Linked DNA regions of Homo sapiens: region 1 is linked to region 2. The links are contacts of gene promoters, found by promoter capture Hi-C in blood cells and fetal thymus (Javierre and others, 2016). All regions are on one chromosome and are shown on one strand. Each heading gives the region's core, a stretch centred on a gene start or on the middle of the fragment in contact. The rest is flanking DNA. Distances are from core to core; before and after follow the strand shown.

What was found. Contacts are between HindIII fragments. The CHiCAGO score rates a contact against its expected background, and 5 or more counts as called.
Region 1: a fragment that was not itself captured here is called in contact with the fragment with the promoter of CD7 in region 2 in 1 of 17 cell types (M0 macrophages); the score reaches 5.3 in M0 macrophages.

Annotation. Positions count from the first base shown.
Region 1 is chr17:82,422,440-82,425,139 of GRCh38, forward strand. HEXD (hexosaminidase D) reads left to right here. Exons shown (of 13, transcript NM_001330542.2): 3 at 1,955-2,064. Among named protein-coding and RNA genes, the nearest start is that of HEXD-IT1, 1.5 kb to the right of the region's middle. RefSeq lists an enhancer at 1,544-2,379. The HindIII fragment of the contact is 7,971 bases long and covers 1-2,700 here.
Region 2 is chr17:82,316,335-82,319,034 of GRCh38, forward strand. CD7 (CD7 molecule) reads right to left here and starts at 1,274. Exons shown (of 4, transcript NM_006137.7): 1 at 1,080-1,274; 2 at 333-647; 3 at 1-75. The coding sequence starts at 1,161. The HindIII fragment of the contact is 24,830 bases long and covers 1-2,700 here.

The DNA.
Region 1 (2,700 bases), core at 4-2,503, 110 kb after region 2:
TGAGCCAAGATCGTGCCACTGCACTCCAGCCTGGGCGATAGAGCAAGACTCAGTCTAAAAAAAAAAAAGCCCAGAAATGTGGTAATCAGACAAAAGGAGGTTGTAAAAAATTGCCTGTGGAGCTCAGAAATGAATTATAAGGAAAAAACAATGTTTTTAATGAAGACTAAACTATAAGAAGTGTACAAGTGAGTAGACACCATGGAAAGTGCAGTATTTGGAAACAGATGACAGAAAAGAAAAAAGCAAACAGAGATGAAAAGGCGTTCTGACAAATTGAATATGGCAAAGAAGACTGAACTTACATACAGCTGATGAAGAGGCATTTTGACTTGGGCCAGGCGCGGTGGCTCATGCCTATAATCCCAGCACTTTGGGAGGCTGAGGAGGGTGGATCACCTGAGGTCAGGAGTTCGAGACCAGCCTGACCAACATGGTGAAACCCTGTCTCTATTAAAAATACAAAAATTAGCCAGGCGTGGTGTCAGGTGCCTGTAATCTCAGCTACTCGGGAGACTGAGGCAGGAGAATTGCTTGAACCCGGGAGGCGGAGGTTGTGGTGAGCTGAGATCGTGCCACTGCACTCCATCCTGGGGGACAAGAGCAAAACTCCATCTCAAAAAAAAAAAGAAAGGAAAGGCGTTCTGACAATTGAATATAGGCAAAGAAGATCCAACTTACACACAGCTGGAGTCCCTGTTTCCATCATCTGTTGCTGCGTGACAGATCTCCCCAAACTTGAGGTCCCCATTCATCACCCCTTGTGTTTCTGTGGGTTGGCTGCGTGATTCTGCTTTTCTGACCGAGGTGCCCTCAGGTGGTCACAGCCCCGTAACATCTAGAAACCTCTGATGGTCCGCGTGGCCTTCCATGTCCGGCAGTTCATCCCAACTGTCAGCTGGGGCTCCTTAGTTCTCCTGCATGTGTGTCATCCAGGAGGCCTAGCATGTGCCTGTAGTCCCAGCTCCTTGGAAGGCTGAGGCTGGAGGATCACTTGAGCCCAGGAGTTGGGTGCTGCAGCGAGCCATGATCATGCCAGCACGCTCCAGCCTGGGCAACAGAGTGAGACCCCATCTGTTAAAAAAAAGAGAGAGGCCGGGCACAGTGGCTCACACCTGTAATCCCAGCATTTTGGAAGGCCGAGGGGCAGATTACCTGAGGTCAGGAGTTCGAGACCAGCCTGGCCAACATGGTGAAACCCCGTCTCTACTAAAAATACAAAAATTAGCTGGGCATCGGGGCGGGCGCCTGTAATCCCAGCTACTCGGGAGGCTGGGGCAGGAGAATCGCTTGAACCCGGGAGGCAGAGGTTGCAACGAGCCAAGATCACGCCACTCCACTCCAGCCTGGGCGAGAGAGCGAGACTCCATCTCAAAAAAAAAAAAAAAAGAGAGAAAGACAAGGAAGTGGGGAGGAGAATAAGGGGGAAGGGACCCCATGAGTACAGACCAGGAACGAATGAGTTCTGCACCCCTCTCTCACCTCCCCCAGGTGCTGACCCCAACCCTTCAGAGCCCTGCTCCCCCTGCCCCGGCTCCTCCTGCCCCGTCCCCCATGCCTTGCCATTCTCCTTCAGCCTGGCTGCCCTGTCCCCCATGCCTTGCTGGTGCCCCTCAGCCTGGCTGCCTTGCTGGGCCGCCGTGCATGAAGAGCTGCTTCTTGGTGGCTCCCTGCTGGCCGGACCCGTCCCTCCCAAGCTGAGCCACCAGCGCGTTGAGTAGCAGCCCTGTTTCATAGCATATCTCCCCTTCTGTGCAAAATAGTCACTGGAACGGGGAGTTTCATTTGGCATAACGTAAAGTACACATTCCGGATTTAAGGTTCCCAGGAGAAATAGAAGTAGCAACTCCCACAGTCTCCACAGGCTGAAAGGGAAGGCGTCTCCCTGCTGTGGACTTGCCACATCGTGCTCCAGCAGCCACTTCTTCCTAACCCCTCCCTGTTTACCCCCCAGATTTTTCCTCTGTTCCGTGCGCTAGGTGCAAACGGCCTCCTCATTGAGTATGAAGACATGTTTCCCTACGAGGGCCCTCTGAGGCTGCTGAGGGCCAAGTACGCCTACAGGTAACACTGCCCGTGGCAGGTACAGGGGCGCGGCGTGAAAGCGGGGAAGGGGGGGTTCCGCAGGGCAGGAGGAGCAGCAACCTGGAGGTGCGGGTGGCACAGTCAGGAACTGAACAGTGGTGGGTACATTCCTTTTTTGTCTTTTTAAATTCATCTCTTTAATTGTATGAAAACAAAGTTTCATTTCAAACATTCACTGGAGAGAATTTTGAAACATTTAAAGGGAAAGTAAGCATCAGCAGCGCCCCCTACAGGGAAGAGCTGCAGTTCCTGTCTCTGTCCTGCAGGCGTTTCTTCTGTTGATGGGAGAAGGCTGGACTACAGAAGGTTAGAGAAGGTTAGAGAAGGTTAGAGAAGGCCAGAGAAGGAAGGCCAGAGAAGGCTGGGCTAGAGAAGGCTAGAGAAAGCTGGAGAAGGCTAGAGAAGGCTGGAGAAGGCTGGAGAAGGCTGGACTACAGAAGGTTAGAGAAGGCCAGAGAAGGCTGGGCTAGAGAAGGCCGGAGAAGGCTGGAGGAGGCTAGAGAAGGCTGGAGGAGGCTGGAGGAGGCCAGAGAAGGCTGGAGAAGGCTGGAGAAGGCTGGAGGAGGCTGGGCTAGAGAAGGCCGGAGGAGGCTGGAGGAGGCCAGAGAAGGCTGG
Region 2 (2,700 bases), core at 24-2,523:
CTGTCGGTGGGGCAGGGAGGGCAGAGGCCCTTGGTGGGGCGTCCGAGCATCTGTGCCATCCTTGGGACTGTTCCTCTGAGAAGGAAAAAAGAAGGAAGGGATTCTCCCGGTGGAGAACCTGTTAGAGCCCCCGGGGTTTGGGATTCGGGGCAGGGAAAGGCTGTGGAGGGGAGGAGGGGCAGCTATCTAGGAGGCTGCTGGGGGCAGTGGGCTGGGAGCTGGAACAGTTCAGGCACATGTAGGAGGGAGGGTCCCACGACAAGGGCTGGGGGAGCAGAGCCTGGCCAGCAGCTGGGGTTGGGAGGGGGGTCTGGGATGGGCACATTCCCTACCTGTCACCAGGACCAGGGTGCCGGAGCCGTAGACATTGACCTCCGTGATGGCCTGGCAGGTGTAGGTGCCAGTGTCCGACAGCTGCAGGCGGTGCATGGTGATAGTCAGGTTGTCCTGGGACCCTGAGAAGTCGATGCGGCCCCGGAACCGTCTGTCCGTAGTGGGCACCACCCCGTCCTCGTAGTAAATGATGTCTTGGGGCTGTGGCCCGAGCTGCCTCAGGTAGATCCCACGCAGGCCCCCGCTGGTGGAGCAGGTGATGTTGACGGAGGCTCCCACGGGGACAGTCGTGCAGTGGGGAGACTGCTGCACCTCTGGGGAGGACCTGGGCTGTCACCATCAGTCTGGCCAGAAGGACAGAGAATGTCCTCCCTGCAGGGGACAGTGGTGGGGATGGTGGGGCCCTGAGACAGCCCAGGGCTGACATGTCGCCAAAGACACGGTGCCTTACGGGGCATGGAGCAGATCTGGGCACCGGCTGTGGTGTTGGGGGAGGTGCTGTCCTCGTGTTCCGAGACTGTGGGCTTCTTCCTCCCAAAGCAGCGGCCCTGCCTGGACAGCCCCGGCCACTCCCCACCGGGGTCCACCCTTTTTCCTTCTCTTAAATGAGTCCTCAGACACTGGAGGCCGCTCAGCACCCCACCCGCTTCCTGGGGGCTGTGCTGTGGCTCAGACTGGGGGCTCTGAGCTCATGGGGCAGGGAGAGCTCTGGAGCTGTGGCCATGGAGAGCCTGGGAAGCTCTTACCTTGGGCAGCCAGGGCCCCAGGCAGGCCGCGAGCCAGCGCCAGAAGCAGGGGCAGCAGCAGGAGCCTCGGAGGCCCGGCCATGTTCCCCACACCCAGCTCTCCCAGCCGGGCGAGTGCAGCTGAGCCTCTCTGGGTCTACAGGACCCCACAGAGAGCAGCACACAGGAGACCGCAGGCGCTCAGAGCTCAGAGAGGGCTTCCTGGAGGCGGTGCCTCAGACCAGGGTGGTGCTGTGGGCCCGGTGGGAGGGGCGGTCTCACCTACCCCTCCCCAGCACTGCCTCCCTGAGAGCTGCCCTGAGAGCAGGGCGTCCCTGTATCCCCCACTGCCCCTGCATCTCCACAGGGAGGAGGTCAAGGCCTGGGGCGGGGCAGACCAGAGGACAGAGAAGGGACTCCCTGGCTGGGGACGGGTGGCAGGGTCTGGAAGTGAGCGGCAGAGCTGGCCCCCAGCCTGCCTGGTCCTCTGGGGTACTTTCTGCTGGGACCCAATTTATGCCCAGAAATCTGGAGCCACCCATGACCCATGAGTCACCCACACAGTGCAGAGGAGCACAGGGCAGGCCAGAATTGGCACCCCCTGGTTTGGCCGTGGGGAAGGAGCCTGGGCCTGCACCCGCACCCAACGCTGCAGCCGACCAGCTGACCGTGGCTCTGCGTTCCATGTCCTGGAGGCGGGAGGTCTGAGGTATGGTCCAGGCCTGAGGTTTCCCGACCTCCCTGGGAGGAGTGCGTCAGGCCGCAGTGCCCAGCTTCAGGGGCTGAGGGAGACCTGTGCCTGGGCTCTGACCCCAGGGTGACTGAGTCCTCTGGGAGGGGGCACTTCTCTGTCCTGAGGGCCTCCCGCCACAATGACGAAGCGTTGACGTTGGTGCCCAAAGCCAGTAGGTGCAGCACATGAGCAGGAGTGTGTGGACACGTGTGTGTGCAGAGACGGGTGCGTATGGACATGTGTGTGCAGAGACGGGTGCGTGTGGACACGTGTGTGTGCAGAGACGGGTGCGTGTGGACACGTGTGTGTGCAGAGACGGATGCGTGTGGACACGTGCGTGTGCAGAGGCGGGTGCGTGTGGACGTGTGTGTGCAGAGACGTGTGCGTGTGGACGTGCGTGTACAGAGACGGCTGTGTGTGGACACTTGTGTGTGCAGAGACGGGTGCGTGTGACTCCATGCGTGTGTGCAGAGACGGGTGCGTGTGGACACGTGTGTGCAGAGACGGGTGTGTGTGGACACGCATGTGCAGAGATGGGTGCGTGTGGACACGTGCGTGTGCAGAGACGTGTGCGTGTGGATGTGCGTGTGCAGAGACGGGTGTGTGTGGACACGTGTGTGCAGAGACGGGTGCACTTGACTCCATGCGTGTGTGCAGAGACGGGTGCGTGTGGACACGCGTGTGTGCAGAGACGGGTGTGTGTGGACACGCATGTGCAGAGACGGGTGCGTGTGAACACGTGTGTGTGCAGATGGGTGCGCATGACTCCACGCGTGTGTGCAGAGACGGATGTGTGTGGACACGCGTGTGTGCAGAGACGGGTGTGTGTGGACACGCATGTGCAGAGACGGGTGTGTGTGGACACTTTGTGCAGAGACGGGTGCGCGTGACTCCATGCGTGTGTGCAGA